3 separate regions of the Homo sapiens genome follow, and regions 1 and 2 are each linked to region 3. Evidence: promoter capture Hi-C in 16 types of primary human blood cells and fetal thymus (Javierre and others, 2016). All regions are on one chromosome and are shown on one strand. The core of a region is centred on a gene start or on the middle of the fragment in contact, and the rest is flanking DNA. Distances in the headings are between cores, read along the strand shown. Region 1 holds the start of KAT8 (lysine acetyltransferase 8). Region 2 holds the start of PRSS36 (serine protease 36). Region 3 overlaps SETD1A (SET domain containing 1A, histone lysine methyltransferase).

What was found. Contacts are between HindIII fragments. The CHiCAGO score rates a contact against its expected background, and 5 or more counts as called.
Region 1: a contact is called between the fragment with the promoter of KAT8 here and a fragment that was not itself captured in region 3, in 8 of 17 cell types (naive CD4 T cells, M1 macrophages, M2 macrophages and 5 more). The highest score is 7.7, in naive CD4 T cells.
Region 2: the fragment with the promoter of PRSS36 here is called in contact with a fragment that was not itself captured in region 3 in 17 of 17 cell types (M2 macrophages, M0 macrophages, megakaryocytes and 14 more); the score reaches 17.6 in M2 macrophages.

The regions. Positions count from the first base shown.
Region 1 is chr16:31,115,809-31,119,738 of GRCh38, reverse strand. KAT8 (lysine acetyltransferase 8) reads right to left here and starts at 2,075. Exons shown (of 11, transcript NM_032188.3): 1 at 1,847-2,075. The coding sequence starts at 2,057. It also overlaps a transcript of BCKDK not described here. RefSeq lists an enhancer at 1,492-1,611 and silencers at 1,782-2,131, 2,031-2,257. The HindIII fragment of the contact is 10,033 bases long and covers 1-3,930 here.
Region 2 is chr16:31,148,600-31,152,264 of GRCh38, reverse strand. PRSS36 (serine protease 36) reads left to right here and starts at 2,199. Exons shown (of 15, transcript NM_173502.5): 1 at 2,199-2,266; 2 at 2,534-2,569; 3 at 2,767-2,802; 4 at 3,030-3,192; 5 at 3,590-3,665. The coding sequence starts at 2,230. RefSeq lists enhancers at 1,955-2,491, 2,492-3,027, 3,028-3,565. The HindIII fragment of the contact is 9,446 bases long and covers 1-3,665 here.
Region 3 is chr16:30,968,443-30,972,400 of GRCh38, reverse strand. It overlaps SETD1A (SET domain containing 1A, histone lysine methyltransferase), which reads right to left. Exons shown (of 19, transcript NM_014712.3): 11 at 2,939-3,096; 12 at 2,712-2,799; 13 at 682-1,023. Among named protein-coding and RNA genes, the nearest start is that of SETD1A, 13 kb to the right of the region's middle. The HindIII fragment of the contact is 6,620 bases long and covers 1-3,958 here.

The DNA of each region.
Region 1 (3,930 bases), core at 826-3,325, 150 kb before region 3:
TGAACCCGGGAGGCAGAGGTTGCAGTGAGCCGAGATTGTACCACTGCACTGTGGCCTGGGTGACAAGAGCAAGACTCTGTCTCAAAAAAAAGAACCCCAAAAAACAGAACAAAACTGAGGCTTACCTAGGGTCACAGATTTGAAAAGTGGTAAGAGCTAATACTTAACTGAATTTAAGTCTGACTCTAAATTCAATGCTCATTTTACCACATACCCGCAGTTGTTCATTTGTTCAGGGATCATGAGTGCTGGCTCTGGATTAAGATAACCTACATTAATGTATAATTCCAGGGCTGGGCATCGTGGCTCACGCCTGTAATCCCAGCACTTTGGGAGGCCGAGGTGGGTGAATCACGAGGTTAAGAGGTCAAAACCATCCTGGCCAACATGGTGAAACTTCGTCTCTACTAAAAATACAAAAATTAGCTGGGTGTGGTGGCGCACAACTGTAGTCCCAGCTACTCAGGAGGTTGAGGCAGGAGAATCGCTTGAATCCGGGAGGCAGAGATCGCAGTGAGCCAAGATGGCGCCACTGCACTCCAGCCTGGCAACAGAGAGCGATTCCATCTCAAACAAACAAACAAAAAAAAATACACAAAATTCCAGCTCCCTACTTCCTAGCTATGTGTAACTGAGCAAGTTATTCCATCTTTCTGAGCCTCAGTCTCTTCATCTGTGAAAAGGGATAACAGCTGGGCACAGTGGCTCATGCCAGTAATCCCAACACTCTGAGAGGGTGAGGTGGGAGGATCACTTGAGCCTAGAAGGTCTAGGCTTCAGTGAGCTGTCATCGTGCCACGGCAATCCCACCTGGGTGACAGAGCGAGATCCTGTCTCAAAAAAAAAAAAAAAAAAAAAGACAAAAGGGATAATAGTACCAACCTTAGAAGGTGAATTAATGCCTCCAAAATTTTTAGCAGCGCACCTGACAATTAGCAGAGCATTCAATAAATGAGTAAGGCAACCACTACGTGTCTGGCCCTATGCTGTGTTGTTGCCGGGTACAGAGGACACAGTGATGAATCACAAGAAGTGCTGCCCTCCAGAAGTTCCCAGTATGATGGAGGAAGACAGAGAGAGAAAATTACAACATAATGTTACAAAAACTATGACTGAGGTAGGAAAAAAATGTTGCAGGAACATAGAGAAGGGAACCACTCACTTTGCCTGAAGGGGAATCAAGGATGACATCACAAAGGATATGAAGCTAAGAGGATGAGTAGGAGCTAGGCAGGCAAACAAGGAGAAAGGGAAGAAAAAGCATTCCAAGCAAAGGGCACAGGTGGTAAAGGGCGTGTGGTCTTCAGAGGGCACAGTGTGTTCTGGCCTGGCAATGCCCTTTCCTAGTGTTGGCTAGAAACTGGAGAGGTCACAAAAATGAATGCCACCCTAAGGAGTTTGGGGTTAATTTTGAAAATGAGAGAAGGCAGCAGAACTTTAGGAAAGGGAAGCCTGTTGTTTCTGGAAGGTCTTCTCTCTGCGGATGGCTGCCAGGGACAAATGGAAAAAGAAGACGCAGAGACAAGAGAGGGTGAGGAAGCAGCGTTAGCAAGAAAAAGGAATGAAGCCTAAGACTGGGCAAGGAAGTGGAATGGGAACAATCCTGGTGAAGGCCTGAGCGGTGGGTTTGTAGGCGTCGCTCGGCATAATTCAAGGTCAACAGCCTCCCACAACCCGGCTGGTTTCTCAGCGCCCGGAACGCGGCGTTCTTTCCTCAAGCCCCGCCCCTCCTCCTCTCCACTCCCAGCCCCCGGATCTTGGCCTCACTGACAGCCTGTCCTCAGGCCCCGCCCCACCCCCTGGCCCTGAGCTCCGCCCCGCCCCCAGCCCTGGGCCCCGCCCTCACGCCAGGTGCTATCCGGTCGCCGGCACAGGTACGTTTCTCCGATCTCCACCGTGACTTCCGGCTCGCCGCGCGCCGGGGTCGGCGGAGAGACGCGGCCCGGGGATGGGGCGGTCCCCTCAGCGGCCGCATTCTCCCCGGGCCCGGGCTCGCCCTCCCCCGCGACCCCTGAAGTCCCCGCCGCAACCGCCGCAGCAGCTCCCTGTGCCGCCATCGCGGGAAGGGAAGTGACGCCAGAATCGGACGCCACGCAGTTCTTTTGGCTCCGGGTCAGCAGTGCGTGGGGCGGGCTCCTCAAGGTTTGAGGGCGGGGTCTGTGATGTAGCAGGAGCCGATTGGCTTCTGTGGCCGTCCCCGCGGCCCCGCGAGTTGGATGTTGAGTGTGCGGCAGTCTTGGAGCTCCTGGTTTTCCGTGCGGACCTGTGGCTGCAGCCTATGGGTGAGGAGAGGAGACAGACTTACCTCATGCGATGACTCAACTCAACCTTTTTTTAATTTATTTATTTATTTATTTATTTATTTATTTTGAGACGGAATCATGCTCTGTCGCCCAGGCTGGAGTGCAGAGGCGCGATCTCGGCTCACTGCAACCTCCGCCTCCGGGTTCAAGCGATTCCTCTGCCTCAGCCTCCCGGGTAGCTGGGACTGCAGGCGCGCGCCACCACGCCCATCTAATTTTTGTATTTTTAGTAGAGACGGGGTTTCACCATGTTGTCCAGGATAGTCTTGATCTCTTGACCTCGTGATCTGCCAGCCTCAACCTCCCAAAGTGCTGGGATTATAGGCGTGAGCCACCGTGCCCGGCCAGCTGAACCTTTTTAAAGGCCCTGGTACCTGCGGAAGCCAAGATGTGCCAATTTTCAGCGGGCGCTGCCCCCACTTTAACAGGGCAGAGCCAGAGCGGCCGCCCTGGTGGCCTGGAGCCGCACACTCGCGCTGGCCTAATGTCGCTCCCCGCCCCCCCCCCTTTTTTTTTTTTGAGATGGAGTCTCGCTCTGTCGCCCAGGCTGGAGTGCAGTGACGCGATCTCGGCTCACTGCAGCCTCCGCCTCCCGGGTTCAAGCGATTCTCCTGCCTCAGCCTCCTGAATAGCTGGGATTACAATCGCGCGCCACCACGCCCGGCTATTTTTTGTATTTTTAGTAGAGAGAGGGCTTCACCCTGTTGGCCAGGCTGGTCTCGAACTCCTGACCTCAGGTGATCCGCCCGCCTCGGCCTCCCAAAGTGCTAGGGTTACAGGCGTGAGCCACCGTGCCCAGCCAGTGCCCCATTTTTGAAGGTTGAAGAGACTACTTCCCCTATTTGGGATACAGTTGGTGCGGGGAAAGCAGAACGGGTGTGTCCAGGGACAGGCCATAATTCACCCTCACAGGATAAAGTCTAAAGAAAGGACGAGTTGGGCGGGGCGTGGTGGCTCACGCCTGTAATCTCAGCACTTTGAGAGGCCGAGGCGGGCGGAGATCGAGACCATCCTGGCTAACACCGTGAAACTCCGTCTCTACTAAAAATACAAAATTTAGCCGGGCGTGGTGGCACGCACCTGTAGTCCCAGCTACTCGGGAGGCTGAGGCAGGAGAATCGCTTGAACCCGGGAGGCGGAGGTTGCAGTGAGCCGAGATCCCGCCATTGCACTCCAGCCTGGGGACCAAGAGCCAGACTCCATCTCAAAAAAAATAAAAAGGCCGGGTGCGGTGGTTCACGCCTGTAATCCCAGCACTTTGGGAGGCCTAGGCGGGTGGATCACGAGGTCAGAAGATCGAGACTATTCTGGCTAACACGATGAAACTCCGTCTCTACTAAAAAAAAATACAAAACAATTAGCCGGGCGTGGTGGCGGGCCCCTGTAGTCCCAGCTACTCGGGAGGCTGAGGCAGGAGAATGGTGTGAACCCGGGAGGTGGAGCTTGCAGTGAGCTGAGATCACGCCACTGCACTGAGGGTTCTGTGAGAGTCAGTAAAGGTTAAAGCCATTTATATGTGTATGGTCCAACCATACACAATCGGCCCTCCATATCCGCATGTCCCACCTTTGGAGATTGAACGAAGAGCGGGTTGAAAATACAGTGTTGAGGTATGGTGGCTCACACC
Region 2 (3,665 bases), core at 950-3,449, 180 kb before region 3:
TTTGCCTAGGCCTGTTTTCTAGGGCAACTAGACTCATAGACCAATATTATTATTAATTGATATTATCAGTAAGAAGATAGATACACATGTGTAAATATTCCTGGGTTGACCCTGCATTTCTGCTGTCCACCCTGATTTGTTCCCTAAGAGTGACCTTTATGGACCATATAATGGTCTCCCTTGAACTCTGGCCTCTGGGAGGTTTCAATGAAAAGAGCCAGGGGGTGATCAGAGGATGGGAGGATCCCAGCACTTTTGGAAGACTGAGGCAGCAAGATCGCTTGAGACAGGAGTTTGAGACCAGCCTGGGCAACATAATAAGACCCCATCTCTACAAAAATAAAAAACATTAGCTGGGTATGGTGGTGCGTGCCTGTAGTCCCAGCTTCTCAGGAGGCTGAGGCCAGAGGATCGCTTAAGCCCAGGAATTCGAGGTTACAGTGAGCTATAATCACAGCACTGCACTCCAGCCTGGGTGACAGAGTGAGACCGTGTCTCTAAAATTTTTTAATTGGTTTAATTAAAAATAGAGAGGATGAGATGAGAGTGAGATGGGGATTTTTCTTTCCCCACTCCCTCTCTGCTGGTAAAGGCTGCATTTCTCTATTGAAGGCCACGGCTCCTAACAGCTATCTCTTCCATAGCTGCAGCTCTTGCTGGGTTCCAGTAACTGCCCCCTCTCTGCCTCTTCAGGCCAGCAGGTAGCAAGGGCTCTCTATTATTGCTGGCCCCAGGATGCGTTACCATCCCTCTTTGGTTTCCTTTTTTTTTTTTTTTTTGTGAGACGGAGTTCGCTCTTGTCACCCAGGCTAGAGTGCAACGGCGCTATCTTGGCTCACTGCAACCTCCACGTCCTGGGTTCAAGCATTTTTATCTGCCTCAGCCTCCCTAATAGGTGGGATTACAGGTGAGTTCCACCACACTCGGCTAATTTTTGTATTTTTAGTATAGATGGGGCTTCTCCAAGTTAGCCAGGCTGGTCTTGAACTCCTGACCTCAGGTGATCTGCCCGCCTCGGCCTACCAAAGTGCTGGGATTACAGCCGTGAGCCACCCAGCCTCTTTGGTTTCCTTTGACCCTGCCTACACTTCTATAAATAGTTTCTTCCTTAAACTCTCTTCAACTCCTCTTTGAAGAGCCATATGTTTCTTTCTTCTTCTTATTCTTCTTTTTTTTTTTCTTTTTGTTGTTGTTGTTGAGACAGGGTCTCGCTTTGTCACCCAGGCTGGAGTGCAGTGGCACAATCATAGCTCACTGCAACCTCGACCTCCCAGGCTCAAGCAATCCTCCCACCTCATCTCCCGAGTAGCTGGGATACAGACGTGCACCACCACGCCCTGCAGTTCATAATTTTTGTATTTTTTAATTTTTTGTAGAGATGGGGTCTTGCTATGTTGACCAGGCTGGTCTTGAACTCCTAGCCTCAAGCAATCCTCCCACCTCAGTCTCCCAGAGTGTTAGGATCACAGGAGTGAGCCACCGTGCTCGGCCAAGTCATATGTCCCTTAAACTGGCTCTTACTGATACACACCAAGAGGTTGGGTTACTTTCCCAAAGTCACACAGAGTAAGTGACAGGGCAGCTAAGAGCATTGTCACTGGAACACAGAGCAGGGTGGAGGCTTTTTCAGCCTCGCCAGCCTGCCCAGCCCCCTCCCAGGGTCCCTATGCCCTGCCCAACCTGCTGGAATCTGTGATCCTTTTGTTGGGATGGGATTGAATTCCCTAGGGCTCCTGTCCCAGACCTGGCCAGCAGCTCCAGTAACCAGAGCTGTGTGAGAAGAAAAGGCCAAGCCACTGGGGCAGCCGCACCCCAAACAGAGGTGAGGTCTCCGATGAGTCATGCCCGTGAGGGGCCACTTCCCCTGTCCTAAGGGCCACTGCTCACCAAGGACACAGAACACTGTCCTCCTCTTTGACCTTTGCCTGCAGTGTTTTTCATCCCTCCCTCTCCCACCCAACAGGTGTCCAGGAGCTAGGACACCTGTCCTCCACCCCCACCCTGGGCCTCCAGAGACATGAGATGTGCGCAGGGCTCTGGGTGGGGCCTTCAGGCTCCCCAGCTTCCCCCTTCCAGCCCCAGATCCTCTCAGATTCCCAGAGATGGGCTCCAGCCAGGGAGGGTGGGGCTGCCCCTGGGACCATCAGGAGTCACGGGCTGCCTGGGCAGTGACAGAGCCCTGCAGGGAGCAGACCTTCACTTGGCTCTGCCTCCGCTGACTCTAGCGCCATGGCCCGGCACCTGCTCCTCCCCCTTGTGATGCTTGGTAACCTCAGGGGACAAGAGTGGCTGCAAAGGGCCTGGGTCCTGGCATCTGGGGGGCTGGAGAGCAGGATTCCTGGTTTCTGTGTGGGGAGCAGGAAGTCAGAGAGAAGGAAGTGAGGCAGCAGAAGGCGAGGATGTATCAGAGGAGGGAGAGGGAGGCCTGGGTGCCCTGGGGAGACGGAGGCTAGGAGGCTGGGGGAGGGAGTCAGGGAGGGCACATACTGAGTGCGAGTCGCCAGCCTCTTCCTGCCTACCTCTGTCTTTCCAGTCATCAGTCCCATCCCAGGAGCCTTCCAGGACTCAGGTAAGGTAGCCGGACTGGGGGAAAGTCACGTGCAGAGGCAGAAAAGACCAGAGGACTGGCATGGGTGCTGGCAGGGGTTGCTGAACGGACAGGGAAGTGGGAAGATAGGGTCGGGGGTTGGAGAGCAGGAAGTGGGGCTGGGCGGTGCAGGCCTGGAAGTCACAAGTGTCCTCCTCTCTTTCCCCTCTGGCTCCCAGCTCTCAGTCCTACCCAGGAAGAACCTGAAGATCTGGGTAAGGAAGAGGCCTTGGCACCCTCAGACCTTAAAGGAGGCTAAGGCTGGTCAGGCCATGAGGGAGGTGGAAAAGACCAGAAATGTAGACAAGCCTGGGTCCTCTATGTTCTTTGTTCAGAGGGGCAAACTGAAGTGGGTGGAGGACGGGCCTTCGTCCTGAGTTACCTGGGCTTCTGGAGTGGGGAACCCGAGGGGAGCTTTGGCTTCCACGGCTCCCCGTTGCAGACTGCGGGCGCCCTGAGCCCTCGGCCCGCATCGTGGGGGGCTCAAACGCGCAGCCGGGCACCTGGCCTTGGCAAGTGAGCCTGCACCATGGAGGTGGCCACATCTGCGGGGGCTCCCTCATCGCCCCCTCCTGGGTCCTCTCCGCTGCTCACTGTTTCATGACGTGAGTATTCGCCCTGGTCCTGGCCCCTCTCCGCCAAAAGCTGGCCCCCGCCCCCGCAGTTGGTCCCCTCCTCCCGCCCCACTTCCGTCCTCAAGGATAATTTGGAGCCAAGCTGTCCCCAAAGCGAGGTGCTATTCGAGGCATCATGGTTCCGAGTGGGGCAAGGCTGCCGGACTGGTCCCACCACTCCACTCAATATCCGGGTCTGAATCCCATCTTTCCAATGACCCCCCCACCACCAGCTCCAAATCGGATTTGCTCTTCCCCTTTGAGGAGTATCAGCACCAAATCTGGATCGGATAGCACCTGCCCCTCTGGCTCTGAGCCCCTGCCCCCAACGAGGGTCTGCCCCCTCCATAGGGTCAACCTAACCTCCTACTGCCCCGGTCGAGCGCAGGAATGGGACGCTGGAGCCCGCGGCCGAGTGGTCGGTACTGCTGGGCGTGCACTCCCAGGACGGGCCCCTGGACGGC
Region 3 (3,958 bases), core at 1,194-3,693:
CCTCCCAAAGTGCTGGGATTACAGGCGTAAGCCACCGCGCCCGGCCTCCTATGTATTTCTTACTCAATGAAGATGTCTTTCCCTGTAGACTGTAAGCATGATGAGAGTGAGAACACTGCCTGTGAGGCTCAGCAACCCATCCCCTGCACCTACTGTTTGGCTGCGATGAGCACTCAAAAAAATATCTACTGCTTGAAAGAGCGGTTCCCTCAGCAGGCTAAGCTATGCGAATGTGCTAGAGTATAACAACTAGACGTACAAATGAACAAAGAAAAGCAGCTAGGACCAAGTTCTGTGTTATGTTAATACTTGTTTTCTACCTATTTGCCCATTTAATAACCTGCACTTGTTCACTACTCACTGAAGAACAGGCTTAAGAAAAATTAGGAGGAAGAACTTATTCAACTGGGCACTTTCTCCTTAATTTACTTGAGAAGAGACCAACCCATTTTACTTTAGTATGCAGCTTAGCCTGGGGTTCTGTAAACCACCATGACGGTACAGTTTGAAGTGTGTCAGACAATCAATGTCTCTAGAAGGTAGTGACAGGAGATGGTGACATTTTCTTTGTATGTTTTTCTAATAAAGTCACACACTTGTACACAATAAATGCAAGCACCACTGTTTTCTCTCTCTCTCTCACACACACAGCGATCTAACCGACAGCCCTGTGGCACCTACCTGCAGGCCTTGCTGGAGACGCCTCCTGTTCGGGCAGGGGTGTGACTGGGGAGCCTGCAACCCTTTCCGGCACTGGCACCTCCACAGGTGCTGGCGTGGGCACTGGGACTTCTCTGGGGGGCGGGGAGGCTGAGGGAAGGGCTGCTGGCCGCTCCTCTTCCTCTTCATCTTCAGAGGAGGACTCAGAGGATGAAGAGGACGAGGAGGATGAGGACGAGGAGGAGGAGGAGGATGAGGAGCTGGAAGAGCTGCTGCTCTCGGAGTCTGATGTGCTGTCATTTTCGCCATCTGAGTCAGCATACAGAGAACATTTGGAAGACGAATCGCTTTCCTCGTCCTCGCCTGGAAATCCAGAAGGGGCAGTCAGGAGAGGTGGGCAGACCTCACTTGGCCAGCCGTGGGCTCCTCACTCACTCCCTGCTGTGGATGCTGGGCTCTGGGCTAGGGACGGGGAAGTCCAACAGACCAAGGAGCTGCATAAGCAAACCATTTTCACTGTGAGATAAACATCAGCATGCGGGGAGGATGGCAAAGGAAGCCCCAGACTCTGTCTGAAGAGGCCCGAAAAGGAAAGCATCCCAGGGGACAAGCTGAACTCAAGGACAAGGAGTCCACCACACAGACATGGGGACTGCACAGGGATGTCGGAAGCAAGAGGAAGTGGAGGCTTGGAGACTGGGAAGCAGGCTGCTCTGGCACTCAAACCTTCCTAAAGTGGGTCTCAGGACCCAGTCTGGACGAAGGATTGGGTGAAAAAGGATTCTGGGCTGAAAAGGTTAAAAAACACGACAGGCTCTATATTCTGAGACTGCTCATGTACGGGAAGGACTCGAAAAAACTGAAGAATTTCACAGTTTTTGAGGAACAGAATTGGATAAGTTAGACTAGAAGGTGGTGGCAGCTGGGGAGCGGACTGGAGGAGGGCGAGATGGAGCTGAACAGAGCAGGGCCAGGAGATAAACGGCCCATGGTGTTGGCCTGGGGGGACACCCTGTGGAGAACAAGTTGCCAGGAAGGACCTTATGGAGGGAAGTCACAGGGTCAGGAGTGCATTTTAGGAAAGAGATTCTATAAGCAGTTTGGAAAATGGACTGGAACAGAGGGAGAAGGACAGAAAGAGAGACAGGGAAATCAGTCAAGACTGCTGCAAGAGGCTGCGTGCAGTGGCTCACAGGTGAAAGCCTAGCACTTTGGGAGGCCGAGGTGGGTGGATCACTTGAGGTCATGAGTTTGGGACCAGCCTGGCCAACATGGTAAAACCCCATCTCTGCTAAAAATACAAAAATTAGCCAGGTGTGGTGGCTCACACCTGTAATCCCAGCGCTTTGGGAGGCTGAGGCAGGAAAATCGCTGGAACCAGGGAGGCGGAGGTTGCAGTGAGCCAAGATCACATCACTGCACTCCAGCCTGGGTGACAAAGCGAGACTCTGTCTCAAAAAAAAAAAAAAAAAATCTGGGTGTGGTGGCTCACGCCTGTAATCCCAGCACTTCCAGAGGCTGAGGTGGGTGGATCGCCTGAGCTCAGGAGTTCAAGACCAGTCTGGCCAACATAGTGAAACCCTGTCTCTACTAAAAATACAAAAAATTAGCTGGGGGTGGTGGTGGGTGCCTGTAATCCCAGCTACAACGGAGGCTGAGGCAGGAGAATCTCTTGAACTCAGGAGGCGGAGGTTGCAGTGAGCCGAGATTGCGCCATTGCACTCCAGCCTGGGCGACAAGAGCGAAACTCTCTCAAAACAACAACAACAACAACAACAAAAAACAAAACAAAAAAAGCGTTCTGCCAGGCTGTCCTTTTGGACAGCTATGTCTCAGCAGAAGAGGGAGCAGGAGGGAGCATTTTGAGCACTGAGCTTATTGCTGTCAAGGGGCCAAGGGTTCCTAAGAATGTGGCCCAAACAGATGCCCTTGCAGAAGGCAAAGGTGACCCACAAGCCCAGCAGGAAGGTCATGTGGGCTCAGAAAAGGGCTAGCCAGGCAGCCGAACCCCTCCTCCGAGCCCAAAGTCGATTTCACTGTCTTGTGCTCACCATCCGACACCTCTGTCTCCTTCTTTGTGGTATCCACAGCTTCCTCTCGATCTTCATCTTCCTCATCTTCCTCGTCATCCTCCTCATCCTTAAGAAAAAAGACAAATGAGGACTAACAGGAAGGGGACAACTGGTCCTACACCAGGCACAGCTGCCTGGGCTCCAACCACAAAGATGCTGGCTATGGGAAGTAGGCTTCGGCCAGGAGCCGGCGCCCGGGCCCTCACCTTCTCCGAGGAGGACTCCTGGGATGCCTCCTCCCCTTCGCTGTCCAGAGCAAAGGACTTGCGGTGCTTGCCCTGGGTCTTGCCTCGCTCTTCGTCCCGCTTCGGGGGCTTGGTCCCCGGACGTCCTGGCTCTCCAGCCTCCTTCTCTTGTTCAGGGTCTAGGCCAGCAGAGTGGTAGTTGGGGAAATTTACCATCAACCACAAGATACTTGCCCTGTGCAAGGGGCTTTACATATACTATTACCAATCTTCCTGATGGTCTTCATTTCACAGATGAGAATTTGGAAGCTCACCAGAGGAACTCAAACACCTCAGTTACCTCATGTTTCATAGTTTTGTATTTGTTTTTGTTTTTGGGACGGGGTCTTGCTCTGTCACTCAGGCTGGGGTGCAGTGGCATGACCACAGCTCACTGCAGCCTCAACCTGCTGGGCTCAAGCGATCCTCCTGCCTCGGTCTCCTGAGTAACTGGGACTATACAGGGGCATGCAATCATACCCAGCTAATTTTTAAAAATTTTTGTAGAGACAGGGTCTACCTATGTTGCTCAGGCTGGTATTGAACTCCTGGGTTCAAGTGATCCTCCTGCCTCAGCCTCCTGGAGTGCTGGGATTATAGGCGTGAGCCATCGTGCCTGGCATATATATATATATTTTTTTTTTTGAGACGGAGTCTCGCTTTGTCGCCAGGCTGGAGTGCAGTGGCACAATCTCAGCTCACAGCAGCCTCTGCCTCCCGGGTTCAAGCAATTCTCCTGCCTCAGTCTCCCAAGTAGCTGGGACTATAGGCACCCGCCACCACGCCTGGCTAATTTTTCTATTGTTAGTAGAGACGGGGTTTCACCATGTTGGCCAGGATGGTCTCGATCTCTTGACCTTGTGATCCACCCGCCTCGGCCTCCCAAAGTGCTGGGATTACAGGTGAGCTCCACCCTGCCTGGCCTTAATATATACAGATACGCATATGTGTGTGTATATATATATGTGTGTGTGTATATATTTGTGTGTATATACATATGTG